2 separate regions of the Homo sapiens genome follow, and region 1 is linked to region 2. Evidence: promoter capture Hi-C in human tissues and cell types (Jung and others, 2019). All regions are on one chromosome and are shown on one strand. Each heading gives the region's core, a stretch centred on a gene start or on the middle of the fragment in contact. The rest is flanking DNA. Distances are from core to core; before and after follow the strand shown.

Region 1 (3,663 bases), core at 234-2,733, 1.5 Mb before region 2:
AACCTAATGGGATTTTCTACTTCCAGCCTTCCTGCCACCTCCTCCAAATCTATTACCAACAGTGATTCTTGGTGGTTGTGGTGCCTCATGCCTGTAATCCCAGAACTTTGGGAGGCCAAGGTAGGAGGATCACTTAAGGCCAGGAGTTGGAGACCAGCCTGTGTAACAAGACAATACCCTGTCTCTACAAAATTACCAAAAAAAAAAAAAAAGTTAGCTTGGTGTAGTGGCACACTTCTGTAGTCCCAGCTACTTGGGAGGCTGAGGCGTGAGAATCACTCGAGCACAAGAGTTCGAGGATACAGTGAGCCATAATCACGCCACTGTTGTCCAGCCTGGGCGAAAGAGACCCCCTTTTTTTTTTTTTTAAATAAGAACAGTGATTCTTTTCAAGCACAATTCAGATTCCAGTTCCTTCTCTGCTGACCATGCCAGTAGTCTCCATCCCACTCCCAGAATAGCCCAAAAGTCCCTCCACCCCTCACACTTAAAACTTTCCCACGAGATCACAGGGTTCTTTCTCACTGCACTGAGACGTGCTCCTGCCTCCTGCCCCTGCCTCGGGCTTTGCCCCAGCCATTCCTCTCCTGAATTCTCGTCCACTCTTCCTTTTGGTGCTTTAAGACGCTCCTTATCCTAGAGACCTATGTGAGCAGCGCCCCCACGTCACTCCCAGGTTTCCCGACAGCATTTCAGCATTTACCACCGACCTTGGCGCATCCGCACCTGCGGATTGATCTGAGGATTCCCCCCCAACTTCCAGCACTTGGCTCTCAGCTGCAGCCACGCCTGCCGGGCCTGCTGCAGGCGCTCAGGGTATTACTTAAGTCAATGATTGCAGGTTCTCGCATCCTATTTAAAACCTTTTCCACTAAGAGATTTAAAACACGTGTCCCCTGCTTTGAACTTTCACGTTACATTTCTTACGTGTAAACCTAGGAAGCCTTTGGAGATAACCCCGGTCTCTGGAGAGGCTTGGATAGACCTCGGAGCCCAGACCGCCCGGGAATTGCCGTGCCCGGCTCCTCCCGACCCCGGCACGGATGCCTCGGCGGAGAAGTTGAGCCAGGCAGAAGCGAGAGAGTCCAAACCTCTGTTTGCCCCGCCACGCCCGCCCGAGGGCCCCACGTGGGCCCCAGGCGCAGGCGCGTTCAGTTCAGGGCCAGACGCGCGGAGACCTGGGAGCTGGCGGGGCGGGGCCGGACTGGGCGCGGGGAGACCTGGGAGCCGGCGGGGCGTGGGCGTGGCGGGGCCGGGCGCAGGGGCGGGGGCGGGGCAACCGAGGGCGCGCGCGAGCCCCAACGGCCGTCGCCGCAGCGCGGGAAGACGCGCCACAGATGCCCCGCCCGCGTGGGTTTGAACAAGAGGCCCCGCCCCCGGCCCGCGAGTGGCCAATCAGCGGGCGTAGCGCGCGGAGAGCGCAGCGTCGACCCTTTGTGGACGCCGAGTGGCGGTCGCTCGCCCCGCCCCGCGCCGTCGGGCGCTCCTTCCTCAGCGGCGGGAAGCTGGCGGCAGCGGCGGTGGCGGTGGCTGAGCAGAGGACCCGGCGGGCGGCCTCGCGGGTCAGGTGAGCGGGCCCGGCGGACCGCTAGGGCGTCTACGGCGGCGTGCACTTTTGTGCTGCAGGGCGCGGAGGAGCCTGGGGGCGGTGCGCGGAGTCTGTGGCTCCTGGCGCTGGGTCCGGGGCGGAGGCGGCGCCCGGGACCACCGCTGGGGCTGCCGCGGCGCCCTCGCCGCCCTCCTGGGCGCTGGTTCCCCCGCGGGGTGGCCGCTGCTGAGGGGGCCCGGGGAACAGAGGGGCCCGGGCCGCCGTCTGCGTTCCTTGCGGAGCGCGGAGCTGGGGCTTTGCCGAGGCCTGCGGGCGGCCCCACGCGGGAGCCGCTTCACGAGGGCCCGGCTGGGGTACGCAGCGGCGTTTCCCGTACCTCGGCTCTAGTTGCAGCGGAGGGAACGCCAGGCGCGCCGCAGCCCCCTCTGTCGGAGCCCGGCCGCGGAGAGGGCCGCGGATGTGGGAGGAGGCCCAGACCCCGGGCGGGTCGGCCAGCGCCGTCTTCCCTGGGCTCCTCCGGCGGTGCGAGGTGGGACTAGGGAAAGTCCCCGAGACACTTGCAGAAGTCAGACGCAAGCCTCCCTCCGCGTCTTCAGACGCTTCTCGCCCCGCAAACAGGATCGTCGTGGCAAAGGCTCCGACAGCTTGCTGGAATAGAGGGTCTCCGCTGCCTCGCTTCTCCTGTGGCCTTCGTGTGGGACGCACGGGACGGCGGGACCCAGATAACCGTTCTCTCAAAGCGAGCCACAGAAAAACATTGCCTGTTCACAAAACTTACGTTTTATCAACTTTCTACGTACAACCACTCTATTTTCAAGTGTCACCGTGTTTTATAATTAGGGTGGAAATCCAGAATACAAAGTGAGTTACACCCCTTTTCTAGGAAGAGTAGTAGGCTGTATCTTGGAAAAGGGGCTAGGAAGTTTCCCTCAACTTGCCACTGGAACATGTTTTCAGGGAAAAGAAGGAGTGTGTTTCGTTCCAAGTAACAAAAGTACCTGCAATTGGCTGGGCGCGGTAGCTCACACCTCCCAGCACTTTGAGAGGAGGCCTAGGCGGGTGGATCTCCTGAGGTCCCGAGTTCGAGACTAGCTGGCCAACGTGGTGAAACCCCGTCTGTACTAAAAATACAAAAATTAGCTGGGCGTGATGGCGCATGCCTGTAATCATAATCCTAGCTATGTGGGAGGCTGAGGCAGGAGAATCGCTTGAACCAGAAAGGCAGAGGTCTCAGCCGAGATCGTGCCATTGCACTCCAGCCTGGGCGACAGAGCGAGACTCCGTCTCAAAAAACAAAAAAAACCAAATACCTGAAATTAACATAACAGTAATTGTTCATGAACAGCCTCCAGGAGACTTGTAGTGGAAGGTGGAGCTCCCACTCAGTACTCAAGACTGCAGACCTTGCTCCTCTTCTCCCTGTTTTTCCGATAAAGTATTTCAAAGCTTATCTGATGTGTGAGGAATGGAAATTGTTGATGATTTGCTTAAAAACCCGAAACTTTGAAGTGGCTGCAAGTCCAGCTGTGAAGGTGACAGGTTAGGTCAGAGTTGAGTCTGTCCCCAACCGTCCCAGCCCTACTGATCAGAATCTGGGAATCTGCGTTTTCAGCCAGCCTCGTGGTATTGCTCAGCCACGAAGGTGTGGCCACTGCTGCTGTAGTGAAGGACCAGTCCCCGAGCTGTACTCTGCTTGCCTGAGCAGCACTGCGGGGCTGCTCCCTGCTGGCCTCTGCCTCGGTGGGCCTAGGTTGCTCTGTCCCTAGTGGCCTGTTGGCTGTTCCACCTGCCATGTCGGACATGTCCTCAGTCCGTCTGGCCCTCTTCGTTTTTCTCTGTCTGGTCGGTGCTTGGTTTAGAAGCCTGAGGGCAGTGCTGGGAGTTGACTGAGGGCTTGGCTGTCCCGGTAACAACCTGTGGAGTTGGTGGGATTTTAGGCATTTAACTAGATGTGTAGAAAGAGCTTCAAAACTGAGCAGGGGGCCAGGCATGGTGGCTCACGCCTGTAATCCAGCACTTTGGGAGGCCGAGATGGGCGGATTGCCTGAGTTCAGGAGTTCGAGATCAGCCTGGCCAACATGGTGAAACCCCGTCTCTACAAAAAATACAAAAAT
Region 2 (3,695 bases), core at 72-2,571:
CACCATGTTGGGCAGGATGGTCTCACCTCTTGATTTCGTGATCCGCTTGCCTCGGCCTCCCAAAGTGCTGGGATTACAAGCGTGAGCCACGGAGCCCGTCCAATTTTTAATTAACACTTTTTTAATACTTCTTTAATTATTGTTTAAACCAAGTTTTCCAGCCTCCTTCATTAGCCTGTTTGGTATTTGCATGCTTTGCTTGAATATTTTATCTCCAGCCCATTCCACACCGTTAGTCAACATTTTCATCTGACAGACGGAATCAAGGCCTAGGCCTCCCTTAAACAAAACATCCCTCCCAAAAGTACCACTTATAAAAATTGCTTGCCACAGACATTCTTGCTACAGACATTCTTTGCGGATCTTTGGCCAGTAACATGCATATACCCACACATAGTTTGCAAATAACAACTATTCAACGTGAAGTGCTACAAAAGTACGATGATAAAGTGCTCGCCGCTTGAAGAAAAGCACTAATAATTGTAACAAAGCCAAAACACACACACACACAACGAAAAAAAACGCACGGTAAGCCAAGAGCTCTTTAAAAATAAAAAATAATCATTCTCGGGAACAAATAAGGTAGGTACAAACTTGCCAGGTGACTCTGTTACGCTTAAAGGTTCTGGCTGTCAACAGTCCCCGGCGTGGTGGCGGCGGCACCCTCAGTCCCATCCGACTGAGGGCGTTGATGCGGGAGCCTCGGGGCTGCGGGACTGTTCGGGATAGGACGCGAGAGCACCTGGACAAAGGCCTGAGGCGGCTGTGCAGAACAGGGAGTGGCCCCGAGGCCCGGGTTTGTCTTCCCTTCCGGTCACCCCTCCCGGCCCAATGTCCCCAGGCCCCTGCTTACCCCGCTGGGCGCCGTATCCCTGCGCTCGGCGCCGCGCTCCGGAGCGAGTTGACAGCCGCGGCAGGCGAAGGCGCGGCAGAGAGGGGGGAGAAAGGTCTTCTTCCCCGCCCGCAAGACCACCATGGCCCCACGCCCCCTGGCTCCCGCGGCGCACGGCAGCATTGCGACGGCGCGAGGGGCCGCTTTACGGCAGGGTCGCGAAGCCCGAGGAAGCGCGGCGGCGCGGCCGACCGTGCGCTTTCCCAGCGGTGCGACGGGGTGAGGGGGCGGCGGGCGGCGCGGGCTGACCCGGGCGGCCGCTCCTTGGTCGCGGTCACTCCAGGCTGCCTCGCTGCGCCGCTGGCGGTGGGCGTGGCGCTGCCGGCGGCTAGGCGCGGACGCCGGAGGAGGTGTCCCCGGGTTTAGGGGTGTTCGGCCAGGGGCGGGGCTGCCGGGCCCGGGCGACTGCCGGAGCTGCGGAAGTCGTGGAAGCGTCGGCGACGCATCGCGCGATGGCGCGGGCGGGACAGGTGAGCGAAGCGCGGCTTGTAGCCTTTTCCCTCTCTCGGGGGGACGAGTGGGGCACCACCTCCGCGCGGGGCTCCCCGCTGGGCCACCCCTTCGCCAGCGCCCAGCCCCGTGCGGCCTGTCGGATCAGGCAGGGCAGAGTCGGTCTCGGCGCTGTCCCCGCCCCTGGGGTCGGAAGCGACCGGGGCTGGCCGGGCCTGGTCTCTGGTGTCTCCGGCCGGGCCTCGGTTCCCCTCCTCCCCCGGCTTCCCCCGGCCGGGCCGAGCTCCCCTCGCGCGCCCATTGTGAGGTCACGTCCTGCAGGCGCGCCCTGGCACCCGGGCCAAGACGCCCGGAGCGGCTGCTGCAGCCAGTAGCGGCCCCTTCACCGGCTGCCCCGCTCAGACCTAGTCGGGAGGGGTGCGAGGCATGCAGCTGGGGGCCCAGCTCCGGTGCCGCACCCCGTAAAGGGCTGATCTTCCACCTCGCCACCTCAGCCACGGGACGCCAAGACCGCATCCAATTCAGACTTCTTTTGGGTAAAGGGCCAAGAGGGAAGGGCGAGGCGGGGAGGAAGCAGCTCGGGCCGCCTTCCCTCCGTGGCCTCCAGGACATCCGCCGGGGATAGATTATGCGTTTCCATTGGTTACCCACCTTGAGCGAGCCGTTTGATAGAAACCAAGAGCTTGAAACGTGCATTAGGCCATTGTGGACTCCCAGTGGGAGGCGAGTGAATGAATTATTCATAGTTACCACGTTTTCGCGGGTTGTTTTTTTTTGAGAGAGTGGAGCATGTTGGGGGCTGAGGAGGTGTTGGGCCTCGAAAGCCCAAGGTGGTGCCCTTCAGCGCTGTCCCGGTCGCTCTTCTTTACCTGTGGGGTTTTAATCTCTTCAGGGAGACTTCTGTGAGGGAAGATGTGTGAGGAGCTAAAAGGGTGGGGAGGGGAAGTGCACAAAGGGATGGAGAGAAACGAAGAAGCGGGGACCTTGGGGATGTCTGAGAGCCACTGGTTTTTGTTCTGGTTCTTTCTTTTGCTTAGAGTTTCTGGAAACTAGGCATAGCTGTGTGGCGGGGCGGGGTACTGTTAGTGTTCGGAAGGTTACAAGAGCTACTGTTTCACCTTTCATAAAGGTGCCCTGCTGGTTCCAAATAGTTTGTGTCGCGTACGGTGACTCACACCTTAATCCCAGCACTTTGGGAGGCGGAGGCGGGCGGATCGTCTGAGACCAGCCTGGGCAATATAGTGAGACCTGTCTCTACTAAAAATAACATTAGCTGGGCGTAGTGGTGTACGACTGTAGACCCAGCTACTGGGGAGGCTGAGGTGGGATGACTGCTCAGAAGTATACCTTTTTAAAATGAGAATTTTAGAATGACTTAATATACCATTAGTGTTCTGCAGAAGCCTTGTGCTGTAGTAAGTTATCATTCTTGTCGTCTTTTAGTGCTTGTGAAACTGAACACAACAAAAGTATGGATATGGGAAACCAACATCCTTCTATTAGTAGGCTTCAGGAAATCCAAAAGGAAGTAAAAAGTGTAGAACAGCAAGTTATCGGCTTCAGTGGTCTGTCAGATGACAAGAATTACAAGAAACTGGAGAGGATTCTAACAAAACAGCTTTTTGAAATAGACTCTGTAGATACTGAAGGAAAAGGAGATATTCAGCAAGCTAGGAAGCGGGCAGCACAGGAGACAGAACGTCTTCTCAAAGAGTTGGAGCAGAATGCAAACCACCCACACCGGATTGAAATACAGAACATTTTTGAGGAAGCCCAGTCCCTCGTGAGAGAGAAAATTGTGCCATTTTATAATGGAGGCAACTGCGTAACTGATGAGTTTGAAGAAGGCATCCAAGATATCATTCTGAGGCTGACACATGTTAAAACTGGAGGAAAAATCTCCTTGCGGAAAGCAAGGTATCACACTTTAACCAAAATCTGTGCGGTGCAAGAGATAATCGAAGACTGCATGAAAAAGCAGCCTTCCCTGCCGCTTTCCGAGGATGCACATCCTTCCGTTGCCAAAATCAACTTCGTGATGTGTGAGGTGAACAAGGCCCGAGGGGTCCTGATTGCACTTCTGATGGGTGTGAACAACAATGAGACCTGCAGGCACTTATCCTGTGTGCTCTCGGGGCTGATCGCTGACCTGGATGCTCTAGATGTGTGCGGCCGGACAGAAATCAGAAATTATCGGAGGGAGGTAGTAGAAGATATCAACAAATTATTGAAATATCTGGATTTGGAAGAGGAAGCAGACACAACTAAAGCATTTGACCTGAGACAGAATCATTCCATTTTAAAAATAGAAAAGGTCCTCAAGAGAATGAGAGAAATAAAAAATGAACTTCTC

What was found. The method cuts DNA at HindIII sites, captures the fragments that hold promoters and counts their contacts. A contact is called where the count stands out against the background at its distance.
Region 1: a contact is called between the fragment with the promoter of CDCA4 here and the fragment with the promoter of BAG5 in region 2, in 1 of the 25 tissues and cell types used here (small bowel).

The regions. Positions count from the first base shown.
Region 1 is chr14:105,018,903-105,022,565 of GRCh38, reverse strand. CDCA4 (cell division cycle associated 4) reads left to right here and starts at 1,483. Exons shown (of 2, transcript NM_017955.4): 1 at 1,483-1,567. RefSeq lists enhancers at 688-747, 763-1,276, 1,791-2,306, 2,758-3,418 and silencers at 1,048-1,117, 1,148-2,037, 2,048-2,137. The HindIII fragment of the contact is 13,458 bases long and covers 1-3,663 here.
Region 2 is chr14:103,560,283-103,563,977 of GRCh38, reverse strand. It overlaps BAG5 (BAG cochaperone 5), which reads left to right and starts at 1,321. Exons shown (of 2, transcript NM_001015048.3): 1 at 1,321-1,362; 2 at 2,786-3,695. The coding sequence starts at 2,814. It overlaps COA8 (cytochrome c oxidase assembly factor 8), which reads right to left and starts at 1,018. Exons shown (of 5, transcript NM_001370595.2): 1 at 854-1,018. The coding sequence starts at 976. RefSeq lists a silencer at 1,064-1,713 and enhancers at 2,054-2,103, 2,203-2,716. The HindIII fragment of the contact is 22,669 bases long and covers 1-3,695 here.